Regions from separate parts of the Homo sapiens genome. Here region 2 is linked to region 1. Evidence: promoter capture Hi-C in 16 types of primary human blood cells and fetal thymus (Javierre and others, 2016). All regions are on one chromosome and are shown on one strand. Each heading gives the region's core, a stretch centred on a gene start or on the middle of the fragment in contact. The rest is flanking DNA. Distances are from core to core; before and after follow the strand shown.

Region 1 (2,700 bases), core at 158-2,657:
CAGGCTAAGAAATAAGATAGGACACAAATGCATCTATTCATAAAGTGAAAATGAAAAAAGATAGCATAAAGATTTAGAAATACCTTTCAACACTGCTCATAGAAATAATTCTGAATGCAAATCATATGACTTTTATAAAAATAGTAACACTTTTGTTTTGTTTTGGATGAGGACATAAACGCTGAAGAATATACATATACAGAGGAACCTCGTTTACTGCTGATAGTAGGGGAAATAAATAATAATCTCTATTTATAGCTTAAGAAAGAGGTCCTCAAAGAGTGGGAGCCCTATGGGTCCCTGAGAGACCCTTCAAAAAGATCTGTGAAATCAAAACTATGTTCATCGTAATATTAAGACCTTATATTCCTTTTTTATTCTCATTCTCTCATTAGTGTATGGTGGACCTTTTCAGAAGCTATATGACATATTATATCATGACACTGATTGCAGAAGCAAGTATGAGAATCCAGTCATCTTCTAGTAAGCCAGACATCAAAGAGATCTGCATCTATGTAGAACAATGCCGCTTTTCTCAATAAGCCTGTTTTAGAAAGTAGAGTTATTTTTCATAAATTGTATGATATTTGCGTTAACATGTAATGGGTTTATTGTCACTTAAATAAGAAAGTAAACGTTTAAAAATTCTCCCTTTAACTTCTAATGTAGTAATATTGACAGGCATAACCTACATAGACAAAAGCACTTTGGAATCCTCAATACTTTTTAAGAGTGTAGAAATCTACAAACCACTGACCTTCAGCCTATCACAGGAAGCTTTGCTATTAGCACAATTATTGCATCTCTGCTCCTATGGTTGCTTTTGTCTCACTGTCTCTGATCTTTCAAAGACCGTTGGGAAGAGCTTGACCAGTAATCTATTGAATGGAGATTACATTTTGAACCTTTTCCTACAACTCAGTGCCCTGTGGGATGACTCTGGGGTGTCTCCTGATGGCTAGGGCAACAGGTCCCTGTTGACATCACCTTATCGGGAAGTTTTAGACAGGAACAGTCTTCAGGCTCTGAAGTACTTGAACACCATGGGATTCCTGCCTTACAGAAGTTAATGAGCACGACTCAGGCAGATTCATAATTCTCCTTAGAAGCCATTTGGGATGGCTTCCACTTTGGGGTCATTCCACATAGGCCAATGCAGAGCATGCAGTAACTGCTCAAATAGGATTTGGAAAGGAATGAATAATTCATTTAGACGTTCAACTTGGAATAGACTTAAGCAGACACTCCTGGTGATGAAGGACTTAGATGCCAGAAAATCAGGCTCAAAGACTTTCAAGCCACTTCCTAGTGTGATGTCACATTCCTTCCTACGCTCCACTGGGGAAGGCAGGTCTGCCCCGCCCACGGTGGCGGGGAAATACCTAGGCATGGAAGTGGCATGACAGGGCTCGTGTCCCTGTCATATTTTCCACTCTCCACGAGGTCCTGCGCGCTTCAATCCTGCAGGCAGGTAGACACCGGGCCGGGAGTCTGGCTGAGCCAGGCATGGGTGGGGCCCTGACAGTAGGAGAGGTGTGCAGGAAAAGACGTGGCAACAATGTGTGCCACCGCAGGCCAGGGATCAGGCCCCCCAGGCCGGCCCCCGACCGGCTAGGTGACCATGGGGGAGCCGACTCCGTCTCTGGGTCGAGGAGTGGAGCTCGCGGCTATTTTCAGCTCCAGCGGCTCCCTGCCTTCCTTTCTCCTTTCCCGCTGGCCCTTGCCAGGTAGGCCTGCCCTGGCTGCTCCCCAGTGAGCGGGTGTTTGGGGTTTCTGTTTAGACCGCCAGGCTCGGGTGGATCCCGAGGACACAGGCGCGCAGGGGAGGCTCCGTGCGCCGCGAGCGGGGTTGGGGTCCCACGTCTGGAACCCAGGCCGCAGGCTGCGCTGGGGGGCGCCCTGGCCCTCACGGGGGCTCTGGACACCAGCCTGCTTCGCTGTCAGGTGGCAGAAGCAGCTCCCACGCGGTCCCCACCGCCGCCGCCGCCTACTCCTCGCCCATCCTCCTCTGCGGCGGGGCGAGCTCCCTGCCCTGGATCCTGGTCGGGCGCCCAGACGAAGGAGACAGGGGAAGGGCAGTCTTTGGGGAAACGTGGGGCCAAAGTCGGAGGGCTCCCCAGGAAAAAGGGAAGGTCAGCGGCCTGGGCGGTTGTCTTTGAGATTCCGAGGTCGCCCACGCCGGCGCCTCGGGCCCGCCCTACTGCGTCCTCCCCTCCCACCCTCTTCTCCCTTCCTTGCAGCCCGGTTTGGGGATGTGGTCCTTGCTGCTCTGCGGGTTGTCCATCGCCCTTCCACTGTCTGTCACAGCAGGTACGTTCCGTGTGTCCTCCGTTCCCAGAGGCTGCCCGAGTCCACAGGCTCCTGGCCTGTCATTGGGAGCCCCCGGGGATCGCGTCAGCCCGAGCGCGGCTCCTTCCCCTCCCCAGACCGCCAGGCGGAGTTCCGCGGAAGAGGAAACAGAGAACCAGCTCCACGTGCTCGGATGCTCAGCCCTGAATGTCGCCTTTGAGCTTGGAGGTGACTTCGGGGAGGGGAAGGAGTTAGGCAAATTCCAAGTGAAGACTTGAGTAACAATGCTCAAATGGAATTACTACAGGCTATTTTATAAGATAAAGCGTTATTTTATGACACAAGGTGAAAGCAAGGAAACCGTCAATAGAACAAATTTCTTCTAAGAAATTTGGTATGGCCGGGCGCAGT
Region 2 (2,747 bases), core at 122-2,621, 52 kb after region 1:
GAGATGCCCTCAAATCTGAATGGGGTGGGTGTATTCCCCAAATCCTCACCAAACCACGAGCCAGTGACCACTCACCCTTTGCGGTCCAGATCTTACTGCCCCGGGGTTAGTCAAGTGGCCAGAGGTGGTGCCCACTGCCCTCAGGGGGTTTCCTGGCGTGGCCTGGTCTCACATGCACTCCGCAGAAGGAAGGACGAAGCGTCCTCAGCCAGCCCGCAGCCACCCTGCCCACTCCAGCACTGCAGGCAGCCTTCAGAGACCAGCCCAGAGAAGAGAACGGCAGCGAGTGAGGGGACAGAGTGCGGAACAGATCAGTAATGCCCATTTTCCTCTTGGGTGCAATAGGAGAAACAGCCTGTTTTAATTAAACTAGCGAATCCTCCATGAGGAATAACGACTCTCATGTTGGAGAGAGAAATCGAGATGCAAAGAAACTTTTTAAAGTTCTACTAATTCCTAATGAAATAATAGGGATGCAATGCAGCAAGAATACAAATAATTGAAGTAGCCTGGCATCACCGCTGACATGTAGGCAGGTTGGCAGGTAACAGCTCCGCTCATGGTCTCAAGTCCAAATTTGTATAAGAAAGGAGGTTTAAGAGTTCAACGGCTAAGGGACAAAAAGGTAGTTTATGGGAACGCTGAAGGCCACCCTCAATTCTCTCCCGTTTCTCCAGCTGGGCTTGGCGCAAATATGAGGTCAATGGGGTCCTATCCCTAGCCCTTGGGGGTGGGCTCCAGAATTCTACTCCAAGCAAAGTGAAGTCAGTTTCCAAGGAGCCAGTGTGCCTTCATCACAGGCCAATTTATAATTTAATGATTCACAAAGTTTTTTAATACTATGAATTAGCTGTAAACCCTCATCACTCCTTTCCAAGACCCTGGCTTGAGGGAATTAGAGACCCCCCTGGGAATCCCCAGGGACTGACCTGGAGGTAGGGCTGCGAGCGGAGATTGGACCAGAGAGGTGAAATACAGGTGCTGAGTCGCTGGGTTACCTTTACATTCACCTTCCCATAATGACTGAGTCAGCCACAAAACCCACTACCTTTGGTATCTCCCCTCAAATACCCTGAGTCGGCTCATGAGAGAGGCCCTGGGAAAGACCCAGTCACATTAAATAAAGGGACCGGGAAGGTGTGGTCTTTCCCCGGAGGACCAAGCAAGATGAAGATATACATGTGAAAAGTGCTTGGCAAACCGTGGGATGCCATGAGGAGCTGGCCTGCCAAAATATGGAATGTGCTCAGGGAGCCTCAGTCCCCAGGGCCCCCCACACCCATCAGCACCCCATAGTGACGCAGACCACTTCCTGCCACGTCATGGTTGGTTGACCTTTCCTCGGCACTTGGTCCTGTTTTTTATTTATAAACTTCCCTCTAACACATGCTTGTTTGGTATTGATCTGGGGCTGTGTAAAGTGGAAAATTCCTTCCTGGTTTCCTTGAAGAACAGAGGCTGTTCCAGATGAGGTCTGGAGTGAGCTACAGAGGGTGATGCTGGCTTTAGGAGTGGTGGCTGCTGGGTCTGAATGTTAGAGGCCACACATCTCCAGTAGTAATATTATTCTGGGAGATGGGAACTCTGTGTGTGGATGTCCCCTCCCATACACCCAGGAACTTCTGAGAAATGCTGCTGTTCACTAATACAATTCCACCCTCATCTCCCAGGCTGTCCCTGGAGAGGAGCTCTCCACTTGAGAAGGACCTCAGAGCCCTGGCTCTTGTCATCCAAATTCACCTTTCCTCTGGGGCTCTTATAGGAAAGGTGAGAGTTGACACTGCTCACCTGTGATCCTCTGGCATAACCACCTTGCAAAGATAACCCAAGAGAAATGGAAGCCTCAGGGATATACCACCAGATGAACTGACGGCAAGGTGGAGGTTTTCGCATTCCCATGGCAGGTTTCCTTATCAGCCCCCATCTCCCACCACATCAGAAAAGGAGTAAATAGATCTTTCCTGATTTCAGGCCCAGAACTAGGCTCAAGAAGAAAGAAGTGTACTCTCACGACTGGCTAAGACTTGCTGGACTGACACCTATGGCTGGAAGATGACTTGTTTTGCTCCATGTCTCCTCATTCCTACACCTATTTTCTGCTGCAGGATGAGGCTAGGGTTAGCATTCTAGACACCCAGTTGAGCTCAGGCGTAGAGAAGAGGAGGATGGGATAAGAACTGGGGCCATCCCCATGTCATGGTGGGTGAGAGCTGGGGCCATCCCCGTGGTCATGGAGGGTGAGAGCTGGGGGTTATCCCCATGGTCATGGAGGGTGAGGGCTGGTCGGGGGAGGCATCCCCAAGTCATGGTGGGTGAGAGCTCGGAGCATCCCCATGTCATGGTGGGTGAGATCTGGGGGTATCCCTGTGTCATGGTGGGTGAGGGCGGGTGGTCATCCACATGGTCATAGTGGGTGAGAGCTGGGGGTATCCCTACATCATGGTGGGTGAGAGCTGGGAGCATCCCCATGTCATGGTGGGCGAGATCTGGGGGGTATCCCCACGTCATGGTGGATGAGAGCTGGGGGAATCACCATGTCATGGTGGGTGAGATCTTGGGGGATCACCTGTCATGGTGGGTGAGAGCTGGGGGGATCACCTGTCATGGTGGGTGAGAGTTGGGATTCATCCCCATGTCATGGTGGGCTGAGCCCACATGGAAGCCTGTGCTTGGACAGCGTATGCCCTTTTCTCTGTTTTTCCACAATGAACAATTAAACTGTAAATGTTAAAAATATCAGTAATTTG

Evidence for each region. The method cuts DNA at HindIII sites, captures the fragments that hold promoters and counts their contacts. A CHiCAGO score of 5 or more calls a contact.
Region 2: a contact is called between a fragment that was not itself captured here and the fragment with the promoter of IL1RL2 in region 1, in 1 of 17 cell types (M2 macrophages). The highest score is 5.4, in M2 macrophages.

The regions. Positions count from the first base shown.
Region 1 is chr2:102,185,616-102,188,315 of GRCh38, forward strand. It overlaps IL1RL2 (interleukin 1 receptor like 2), which reads left to right and starts at 1,408. Exons shown (of 12, transcript NM_003854.4): 1 at 1,408-1,471; 2 at 2,241-2,310. The coding sequence starts at 2,253. RefSeq lists an enhancer at 1,064-1,593. The HindIII fragment of the contact is 3,870 bases long and covers 776-2,700 here.
Region 2 is chr2:102,237,221-102,239,967 of GRCh38, forward strand. IL1RL2 (interleukin 1 receptor like 2) reads left to right here. Exons shown (of 12, transcript NM_003854.4): 12 at 1,972-2,747. The coding sequence ends at 2,021. Among named protein-coding and RNA genes, the nearest start is that of IL1RL2, 52 kb to the left of the region's middle. RefSeq lists an enhancer at 495-1,694. The HindIII fragment of the contact is 3,382 bases long and covers 1-2,747 here.